Linked DNA regions of Homo sapiens: region 1 is linked to region 2. The links are contacts of gene promoters, found by promoter capture Hi-C in human tissues and cell types (Jung and others, 2019). All regions are on one chromosome and are shown on one strand. The core of a region is centred on a gene start or on the middle of the fragment in contact, and the rest is flanking DNA. Distances in the headings are between cores, read along the strand shown. Region 1 overlaps NDUFA9 (NADH:ubiquinone oxidoreductase subunit A9). Region 2 holds the start of RAD51AP1 (RAD51 associated protein 1).

Region 1 (5,895 bases), core at 2,294-4,793, 140 kb before region 2:
TTACATCATAATCGTCTTTCCACATCATTATTTTATTGCATGTTTCATGACAACATATTACACTGCATGTAATCACAATTATTTTATCAATTGCCAGTTTTGAGATATTTATGCTATTAAAATTTTTTTCTTTTATAATGTTTTAATGAACATTCTTGTAATAAATATTTGTACTTATCCATGATTACGCATTTAGAATATATTTGTAGAAGTGGAACTGGGTCAATGTAGACTTTAAAATTTTAAGGCTTTTATTGAATACTTCTAAACTGCTTTTCAAAATGGTTCTATCAATTTATATAAAATGTTAAGTATATAACATTTTAGATAATTATATAAATTATAATTATATATATGTAATTATATATAAGAATGCCCCCTCCACCCGAAATGAGTTGTCATAAGAAAATAAAATTTTTGCCAATCTGCTAGGTTAAAAAAAAAAAGGTATCTCATGTTTTAATTATTATGTCTTTAATATGAGAGATCATTTCTTCACGAATTTTTGGTCATTTATACATCTATCTTTTCTTTCCTCCTGGAGTCCCTGTCTATAAAAATAATTTGTAAGAATTCTCTATATTTTAGTGATATTGTTGGAAATACCTTTTATTGTTTGTATTTTAACTTTTAGTGTTATTTACAGTGTTTTGTGCACATAAAATTTTAACTGTTTAATTTAACCAAAACTACTGATTTTCTTTATGGCTTGGATTCATAGTTAGAAAATTCCTCTGCAGTGACATAAATTTCTACATATTTTGTCTAAACCTTATAAAAAAGATTTTTTTTTTACTATAAAGTTCCTTCTGTGACGTATTTTTGTACATTATATAAGGTAAACATGTAATTATATTTTTCCCAAGATGTAAGCCAATTGCTTCAATGCTACTTACAGAATCATTTACTGTACTGCCTCTTTCCCTATACTGAAATGTCACCCTTATCACATACTATATCCTTACATATAATGGGACTGTTTCTGAACGTTCCGCTCTATTCCATTAATCTGAATAGTTCTGTACGATTTTAACCTAGCATTAATAAGTATCAGTGCTTATAATGCATTTTAATATTTCTTTACCCATTTCCTAATTCATTTGCATGCTTCATGACAGTAAATCTGTGACAACCAAGAGCTGAGTGAAGGTAATTCAGTGAGAACCTCATTATTCTGACATACTTTACTAAAAAACATGAAACTATCAGCCAGGAGAAATATCAGACAAAGGCCTTAGCAGGGTTCTTCAAATTCCAGAGGGATTTGTAAGGATCATTACAGGACATATAATACATGCTACGCCAAGAGCAACTTGAATTTTTACGATGACAAACAAAACTGGTATCATGGGTTAACTAACTCTACATAATAGGTTTCCTTTTCAGCTGTTCTGAAGCACTTTGTGTTCCATCAAGTGCAACCGGAACACTAGTTTAAGTGCCCTTCCTCACAGCCAAAGGTACATTGAAGCCCGCATCCTCCCAGCTTAGATTTCAAGGCTCAGCATCACAGTTATTCCTCTGCAAATATCCTCAGCAAAATCTTGTCTCCCAGGCCCCTACCCACTATACTTGCTAAGCAAAACTCACTCTGGTTGACCCAAACATGTGCCTTCTCTGAGCCTGAAACCCCAGAAGGACAAAACTGTAGACGAAATACAATTGAACTGATTGACTTCACCTTATTTTTTTATCAGTAATTTCCAATGGAACACTCAGTTCTGCTTGGCAATCCCACATGTTCTCCTAGGAAATGCTCTTTCCTGTTCTCCCAGGGCATACTTTCTATCTTCTGTCCTCAAATTTTCCACACACTTTTCTGACCCACTCCATCCTGCCTTTTAGCTAACCTCACATTCCAACAAGAAAAGATACTCCTAACATTCCCACAGCCAAACCTACCTGCATCTGCATATATCCTTGAATTCTTTTCCTTGTTAAAGTTGAAGAAATGTTTGCCTTTTACAAAGGTCAAACCCTCATTTGCACTCTGTATCCAACTCCTCTCAATTCCTGAAGGACTTTGCTCCTTTTCTGTCGGCCTCATCTCCTGAGTCATGAAGTGACATCTCTTTCCTGGACCATTCTTACCAATTTATAAACAAGATGTACCATCTTCCAAATCCAGGGTGGTACCTCCCTTGACAAGACATTCATGTTTCATAGCCTTCTCTTTACCCGTTTCCTTTGCTCCCTTTTACAGGGAAACTTCTCCAAATAGTTACCTAACTGTTGCCTCCACTTCCTATCCTGCCATTCAAATCTCACTGCAATCCAATCTGCCCTTTGCCTAATGTTCAAATGAGGTCATTAAGGTGACCATGAATCTCTATGCTGTCACTCACTCAACCTCCTGGCAGCATCCAATATAGTTGCCAACTTCCTCCTTCTGGTTTTCTTTCCAATTAACTGGACTTTCCTTTTCGGTCATTTATTTTAATTATTTTGCTTAATTATTACTTATGCATCTCATCACTAATCTATAAGCTCCACAAAGGCAGAAATCTTACCCATGCTATTCACTATTGTGGTATAATTTACATACATTAAAATTCATCCATTTTAAGCATATAATTCAATGATTTTTCATACATTTACCAAGTTGTACAATCATTACCATAATCCAGTTTTAGAATATTTTTCCTTACTCTAGTAAGATCCTCCACAGCCATTTAATCCTGGATTTTACTCCCAGGCTCAGGCAATCACTAATCTACTTACATTTGCCTTTTATAGATACTTCATATAAACGGAATCACACAACATGTGATCTTCTGTATCTAGCTTCTTTCATTTACCATGTTTTTGAGGTTCACACATGTAACATGTCAATATTTCATTCCTTTTATTGTTGAACTTCTATTATATGAGAATGCTACTATATTTTATTTCTCCTTTCATCAGTTAATGAATATGTGGGATGTTTCCAATTTTTAGCATTTATGATAACGCTGCTATGAAAATTCAAGTGCAAATCTTTGTGTAGACACATTTTCATTTCTTTTGGGTAAATATCTAGGAGTAAAATTGATAGGCCATATGGTAAATTTATGCTAACTTTTTAAGAAGATGCCAAACTGTTTTCTAAAGTGGCTATACAATTTTACACCCCTACCAGCAATGTATGAAGGTTCTCATTACTCCATGTCTTCCTCAACATTTGTTATTTTCTCTCTGTGAACTGGTATCTCATAATGGTTTTGATTTGCATTTTCTGTAATGACTAATGATATGGAGCATCTTTTCATATGTTTTTTAGTGATTAAGTACATCTGCTGGGCTGATATGCCTATTCATGTCTTTTGCTCATATTAAAAAATGGATCATCTTCTCATTGAGTTCTAAGATTTCTTTGTATATTCTAGATAGTAGTCCTCTATCAGATATGTAATTAACAAATATTTTCCCCCAATCTGTGACTTGTTTTTTCATTTTCTTAATGGTGTCTTTTGAAACACAAGAGCTTTAATTTTGGTGAAGTCTAATGTATCCATTTATTTTTTATTTTATGAAATAGGCTTTTGATGCCATAGGTAAAAATCTTCTAGAATCCAAGGTCTAGAAGATTTTCTATTTTCCTTCCAAAATTATTATAGTTTTATAACTCTTTTATTTATTTTTTTACATTTTTACCAATTGAAATTTTTTTTTTAATTATACTTTAACTTCTGGGGTACATGTGCAGAACGTACAGGTTTGTTACATAGGTATACATGTGCCATGGTGGTTTGCTGCACCCATCAACCTGCCATCTACATTAGGTATTTCTCCTAATGCTATCCCTCCTCTAGCCTCCCACCTCCAGCAGGCCCCAGTGTGTGATGTTCACCTCCCTGTTTCCATGTGTTCAACTCCCACTTATAAGTGAGAACATATGGTGTTTGGTTTTCTGTTCTTGTGTTAGTTTGCTGAGAATGATGGTTTCCAGCTTCATCCATGTCCCTGCAAAGGACATGAACTCATCCTTTTCTGTATACTGGCTGCATAGTATTCCATGGTGTATATGTGGCACATTTTCTTAATCCAGTCTATCATTGATGGGCATCTGGGTTGGTTCCAAGTCTTTGCTATTGTGAACAGTGCCGTAATAAACATACGTGTGCATGTGGCTTTATACTAGAATAATTTATAATCCTTTGGGTATATATACTCAGTAATGGGATTACTGGGTCAAATGGTATTTCTACTTCGAGATCCTTGAGGAATTGCCACACTGTCTTCCACAATGGTTTACACTTCCACCAACAGTGGAAAAGCGTCACTATTTCTCCACATCCTCTCCAGCATCTGTTGTTTCCTGACATTTTAATGATTGCCATCCTAACTGGCATGAGATGGTATCTCACTGTGGTTTTGATTTGCACTTCTCTAATGACCAGTGACGATGAGCTTTTTTCATATGTTTGTTGAGCTGCATAAATGTCTTCTTTTGAGAAGTGTCTGCTCATATCTTTCGCTCACTTTTTGATGAAGTTTTTTTCTTGTAAATCTGTTTAAGTTCTTTGTAGATTCTGGATATTAGCCCTTTTTCAGAAGGATAGATTGCAAAAATTTTCTCCCATTCTGTAGGTTGCCTGTTCACTCTGATGATAGTTTCTTTTGCTGTGCAGAAGCTCTTTAGATTAATTAGATCCCATTTGTCTATTTTGGCTTTTGTTGCCATTGCTTTTGGTGTTTTAATTACGAAGTCTTTGCCCATGCCTATGTCCTGAATGGTATTGCCTAGCTTTTCTTCTAAGGTTTTTATGGTTTTAGGTCTTACGTTTAAGTCTTTAATCCATCTTGAGTTAATTTTTGTATCAGGTGTAAGGAAAGGATCCAGTTTCAGCTTTCTGCATATGGCTAGCCAGTTTTCCCAACACCATTTATTAAACGGAGAATCATTTCCTCATTGCTTGTTTTTGTCAGATTTGTCAAAGATCAGATGGTTGTAAATGTGTGGCATTATTTCTGAGCCCTCTGTTCTGTCCCATTGGTCTATATACCTGTTTTGGTACCAGTACCGTGCTGTTTTGGTTACTGTAGCCTTGTAGTATAGTTTGAAGTCAGGTAGCATGATGCCTCCAGCTTTGTTCTTTTTGCTTAGGATTGTCTTGGCTATGTGGGCTCTTTTTTGGTTCCATATGAAATTTAAAGTAGTATTTTTCCAATTCTGTGAAGAAAGTCAATGGAAGTTTGATGGGGATAGCACTGAATCTACAAATTACTTTGGGCAATATGGCCATTTTCATTGTATTGATTCTTTCTATCCATGATCATGGAATGTTTTTCCATTTGTTTGTTTGTGTCCTCTCTTATTTACTTGAGCAGTGGTTGGTAGTTCTCCTTGAATAGGTCCTTCACATCCCTTGTTAAGTTGGATTCCTAGATATTTTATTCTCTTTGTAGCAATTGTGAATGAAAGTTCACTCATGATTTGGTTCACTCATGGTTTGTCTGTTATTGGTGTATGGGAATGCTTGTGATTTTTGCACATTGATTTTGTATCCTGATACTTTGCTGAAGTTGCTTACCAGCTAAGGAGATTTGGGGCTGAGACAATGGAGTTTTCTAAATATACAATCATGTCATCTGCAAACAGAGACAATTTGACTTCCTCTTTTCCTAATTGAATACCCTTTATTTCTTTCTCTTGCCTAATTGTCCCAGCCAGAACTTCCAACACTACGTTGAACACGAGTGGTGACAGAGGGCATCCTTGTCTTGTGCCGATTTTCAAAGGGAATGCTTCCAGTTTTCGCCCAATCAGTATGATATTGGCTGTGGGTTTGTCATAAATAGCTCTTATTATTTTGAGATATATTCCATCAACACCTAGTTTATTGAGGGTTCTTAGCATGAAGGGCTGTTGAATTTTGTCGAAGGCCTTCTGCATCTATTGAAATATTCATGTAG
Region 2 (5,647 bases), core at 1,531-4,030:
GATTTGCATTTTACCGCGGGGATTTATCATTAGCTAAAATAGTTACAACTATACCTGATATACCTGGGTATTGTTGGCTTTTCAATTATATGATAAAGGAAAAAAATTCAGGTAACTTACAAAGAATAATCTACATAATTAACATTTATAATTGCTATACTGTTTAATTGCTGTTGGGCATTTGTAAGTTCCCGTTGTACGTGTTCTTCTGTTTTGTGTGTGCATTCTATCTTCCTTACTAGATTATAAATTTCTTGACACTAAAAGCTACTTTCTTTTCAATCTCTCCACCATACCAAATAACATTTTTATGCAACGGACACTTAAAAATGGTGAGTGACCTTGTTCCTACCACCTGAGATGAGTATCCCTTATCTGAAATGCTTGGAACCAGAAATGTTTTGAATTTTGGATTTTTTCAGATTTTGGAATATCTGCATTATATACTTACCAGCTGAGCATCCCAAATCTGAAAATCTAAAATCTGAAGTGCTCCAATGAACATTTCCTTTGAGTGCCATGTAGGTACTGCAAAAGTTTCAAATTTTGGAGCATTTCAAATTTGGGATGCTCAACTTGTACTACTTCAGAGGGCATTAGAAGAAAATGATATTCAAAGTGAAAAAAATAATTTTTTCCTCCCTCCTCTAGGCACTAAATAAAATGTTTTTCTAGTTTTTATTTCTATATTTTTGTCAAATGGCTAAATGTGAATAACCTAATTTGTCAGCTGGTTGTTCTTTCAAGTAAAAAGAATGTTCTATGAAAAAGAGGTAGTAAGCTCAGCTCACAACTCAGACAATCTCACAAGTGCTTTTCCTTGAGATAACTATCACGCATCAGTATACAGAAGTGCTTTATGTGTACTTCCTGTTTCCTCACGCAAACTATTAAAAAGTGCACTCATATTACTCTCTTACTCTTCAGAGTTAAAGAAGTTAGAGCTGAATAAAATGTGAAAACCCCTTTATAAATTCTGAACTTGAATAATAGTAAAATAAAATCAATAGCCTATTTTTAATTAGTATACTTAAGGGTTAAGCTATGATGAATATAATAATTTCCACTACTTCATCAAGCATATTCTTAACTGAAATGATTTTTTTTTTTTTTTTTACTTTTAAGAGTATGGCAGTAAACATTGCAAAGACTAGTAGTACAATTTAGTGCCACTGCCTTAATTGTTCTGAGGTGCCAGCAGTTTTATCGGGGTCACTGCAGTGCAAATGACAAAGCAGCGAAAAAGGCAAATCATATCTTAGTATTGTTATGAAAGGAGTTTTGACCTCATAGACCTCTAGAGAAGTTTCCAGGGACCCACAGAGGTCTGTAGACCATACTTTAACAACTGCTGTTCCTTACAAAGGGATTATGACTCCACTGCCTGGATGCTTAAAACCCATTTCAAATTCAGCATGTTCGAAACAGAAATCTTGATCCCTCACACCTCCTAACCTTCCTTTTCCTAGTCTTCCCTATCTTAATACAAAGATCATCCATCCTGTAGCTCAGACCAAAACTATTGTGGAGTCATCTCTGATTCTTTCTTTCCCTTACCTGTACATCTACTTCATCAGCAAGTTCTGTCCACAGTGCCTCCGAAATACATCCCAAATTCATCTGTTCCATTCCATGCCCACTAATAATACCCTATCCCAAACCGCTCTCCAATGATATAATACCTGATTTTCCTGCTCCCGTTCTGGTCACCCTATCCATCATTTATTCTCCACCAACAGCCAGTGACCTTTATAAAAGCAAACTTAGATTCCTCTCCCCTACTTAAAACCCTCCACTGACTTCCCATTGACTTAAAATAAAACCTAAACTCCTTTCTAAGACTTACAAGACCCTATCTGTTCTGGCACCTGCCTATTTCTCTGGCCTAATCCCCCTACGATTCTCCCCACTGCTTGTTAATCCTATAGCATTAGACTGTCCCTAAAATATGGTCAAGTATGGGGCCTTGGCTCCTATTCCCTCTACCCTGATTCATGACTCAGTGCATGCATTATCGCCTCAGAGTCACATATTAACTACTATATTTAAAGTAGTGCTTTCCTCTTTCGCACTCTCATATTTCGAGGCTTATTTTCGGCCCCCTAACCTCACCTCCCACTGGAATGTAACCTCCAGCACCTCGTACACTAAAGAAGTGAATATATTCAATAACTTTATTAAATGAATGGCTAACTATAGGCTTCCATGGCACTCAACTGTGTAAATAGAAGAATCGTTTCTAATACCACGATGGAAAGCACAGAGGATCTTGAGTGAGATGACTTAGGTTTGAGTATTGCCCTGCCACTTACTGGGCTGTATGACTCAGATAACTTACCCTCTATACGTAGAAATGTTAAATCAATACAACAGGAATGCTTACTCTTTCTATATCAAATAACTACAGTGATAAACAAATAAAATAACACATAATTGGGCGCTCGGTGAAATGTAAAGCGCTGTTCAAACGCTAACAAGGTCTTGGTAAAAGAAACGGCGACGGTTGTGAAGGGAGGCAAAGAGAAGGAAAAAGCTACGATGCTAGGATACTTCTGAGCAACGGGTGGCTCTCACTGGAGACTGGGTTCTTGATAACCGTCCATCCTAACCCCACCATCGCTGCCCTCCGGTCTTACTCGATCCTTTCCCCTTAGTCTCATGTCTTTTCCCTTAGTTTTCCTCCCACCCCCGACGAATGTCAGGAACTACCCACCTCACAGGCCGCACCATGGTCCCTTTCAAGGCTTGGTATTTACAGTTCTCAAATTCTTGTTGGCTTCAGCGGCGGTTTCAATTCCCGCCCAAAACCAGACTTCGGAGCCCTCCGCCCCCTGTTACCAGTCGTCCAATCATCACCAGCCATGCTTGCGGCGGCGCACGCGCTGTGGGGAAAGCGAATTTGCTCCCGCCCTCCCCAAGGCACCGCTTTTCCGTATCCGGTCCACCAGAGCCGAGTTTGTGCTTTGTCCCTGCACTTTCGTCACAACGGCGGATTTGCCCTGTCTCTGAAATACAGAATAACAATAGAAATACACCTTATTGCACCTTTCAAATTGTTAAATTGAAACAGGTTGGGACATAGGGGCACTTGGACTGAGAAATTTTCTACAAGATGCCAGGAAATAGAAAAGGATGTGGCGAATCTACGTTCGCGGATCCGCGGTGTGGAAAAAGTATGTCGGCAAGTCAGCTGGTTTCCCAGTGCAGGACGCGCTGACAGCTCGAGTGAGCGGACTGCCCAGGACTTCGGAACTAGACGAGGTGAGCCCAGAACCGAGTGAGGATGCCCTTTCAGACTGACAACCGTTACAGAGGGATTAGTCCCCTCACCCGGCTGAAGTTTCTCAGCTCGACCGTCTGTCTTCCTTTTCCCTGATTAATGTGAGCCTCAGAGCCTCCGCTCTGTTGGCTGTGTGTGTTCGGTCCAGACCTTCCATCCCATTTTCTTATGGGAAACCTTCCTGGATTTCACGGTTGCTAAAACTGAACCCAGGCTTCAGGATAGACCATTAGTCTAAAAAAAGAGCGAGAGGAGAAAGAACTAAAGTTATCAGTTTCTTGAAACACAAGTCTAAATGTTGAACCAGAGCTTTTGTGTCTGCCTTCTCTTTTTTTTTTCAACATTCCTGATTCATTCATATTTTTGCATTTATCAGTGGTTGATTCTTTTTTATTGCTGTGTAGTATTTATCTCATAAAATAAACAAGTTTACTATTCTCCTACTAATACGCATTTTGGTTGTTTCCAGTTTGGGGTATTATAAATAAAACTTATATGAGCATTCTTCTGGGTGTACTTTAGCGAACATATGCGTGTGTGTGTATTTGGATATATACTTAGGAATGAAATTTCTACATCATAGAATATACCTTTATGTAGTTTTGGTAGTTTTCTAACATTATAAAAATTTGTATTGCTTTACGTTTAATTTTAATTCTTTCTGAGTAAAACAAATACCCTATCTCTTTGCATTATGGTGAAATAGACGAAGATTTTTGTGTATAGCCTACATACAGATTTGAAAATATAGTCTGGATAATTCAACTTAGCCCCGCCCCACGACATGTACAAAAGTCCTTTGAGTTTTTTTTATATTTCAGGTGATATCTTTTTAAATAACCGTATGAATAATTTTTTGTTCTTTATTTTTCCAGTGAGCACCATAAAATAAAAACGCCATACAATCCAACAATTATTTATTAGTTCTTGCCATTCGCAACATCCTGCCTAATACATGGAATACAAGACAGTATTCCTTCCACTTCAAGAAGACTGTTTTCTAGCCAAGAGTAAGAAATAGAGCGTGATAAGTGCCATGATTCAAATAAGTCTAGGCTAATATGAGAGCCTGTCGGGACCCAATCCAGTTTTAGGGAGTTGGATAAGTCTTCCTAGAGGCTTAACTGAGACCTGAAGAATTAGCAATTGTTATCCAATGAAATTAAGATCAGTAAGAGTGCTCTAGGCAAAGGAAAAGGCATTCAAAAAGATTCGGCATGGAAGGAGAAGTTTGGTGTTGACAGAAGTTCAGAATGGCTGGAAAATAAAATTTGTGAATTTGTGTATTAGGAAGGAGAGGTGCAGTTTCTGAGAGAAGAGTGGAAATATAAGCAGGGGTGTTGTAAACTGGGATAAAGAGTTTGCATTTTATCCTGAGAGCAATGGAATGTCATAGAAAGTTTTTAAGCGGATGAACAACATGATCAGATAAGTATATTCCTTTTTTAAAAAGGAAGATTACTATAACTTCAGTGTAGAAAATAATGTAAGAACTGATTTGATGGGAGAAAGCCTAGCCATAGGAAGTCCAGTTACAAGGCTGATGAATAAATAAATCTTTAATTGATGTTGATTCTTACTGCCTTTAACTAGATTTTCTTCTTCCTTAGTAGTGTCTAGTTTGCCTTTGGGGTGTGGGCCGGAAGTGGAGGTCCTGTACTCTCTCTTTTCTGTGTATCTTCTTCCCACATGGAAATCTTTCTAACACTTTCTTACTCCCCTTCCCCCAGTCGGATCTCATGACCACAACCTCTAAGTTCTCCAGGATCACTCCTTGGTCCCTGATCTGCTTCTTTGACTTTCTTTTTACCAACGGTTTCTTAAGCTTTGTATTTCCCCACCCATGAACTCTCCCTAAGAATTCTCTCTGCTCTTCTCTCCATGGTCCTTCCCTATTATTGAGAACCCTGCCTTGGAATATAAAGTACTTTATGGCCATAATTTTTTTTCTTAAATCAAGTTTAAAACAAAGTGTCTTTTTTTTTTTTTTTAAAGAAGCACTTTGTTTTCATCATGAAGATGGAAGTACAGGGATAAACACTTGGGAAAAACTAGAATAATTGGCTCATAGACAAAATCTCTTGAATGGTGGAATGTTTTCTTAGAAATGGGACAGCAATAATGAAACATAATTTCTTTATGGACTTATAACCTACTGCTTTTTTGTTAGTTCTGTAGAAATCCTGTCAAAGAATATGAAGAAAAACAGAGAAAGATTCTGCAATAGAGAGAGAGAATTTGTATATAAATTTAAAGTAGGAAGTCAGTGCTTAGAACTGAGAGTGCCACTCAAATTTCCTGTTCAAGAGAATGCCAGTCATTTGCATGGACGTCTGATGCTGCTGCACAGTTTACCGTGCTTTATAG

The links. The method cuts DNA at HindIII sites, captures the fragments that hold promoters and counts their contacts. A contact is called where the count stands out against the background at its distance.
Region 1: a contact is called between a fragment that was not itself captured here and the fragment with the promoter of RAD51AP1 in region 2, in 1 of the 25 tissues and cell types used here (H1 embryonic stem cells).

What each region holds. Positions count from the first base shown.
Region 1 is chr12:4,676,041-4,681,935 of GRCh38, reverse strand. The region is part of intron 8 of NDUFA9 (NADH:ubiquinone oxidoreductase subunit A9); the gene reads right to left. Among named protein-coding and RNA genes, the nearest start is that of NDUFA9, 30 kb to the right of the region's middle. The HindIII fragment of the contact is 9,697 bases long and covers 1-5,895 here.
Region 2 is chr12:4,536,023-4,541,669 of GRCh38, reverse strand. It overlaps RAD51AP1 (RAD51 associated protein 1), which reads right to left and starts at 2,780. Exons shown (of 9, transcript NM_006479.5): 1 at 2,714-2,780. The coding sequence starts at 2,730. FERRY3 (FERRY endosomal RAB5 effector complex subunit 3) reads left to right here and starts at 3,201. Exons shown (of 14, transcript NM_020374.4): 1 at 3,201-3,261; 2 at 5,451-5,647. The coding sequence starts at 5,476. RefSeq lists enhancers at 2,348-2,956, 2,957-3,566 and a silencer at 3,172-3,221. The HindIII fragment of the contact is 8,045 bases long and covers 1-5,426 here.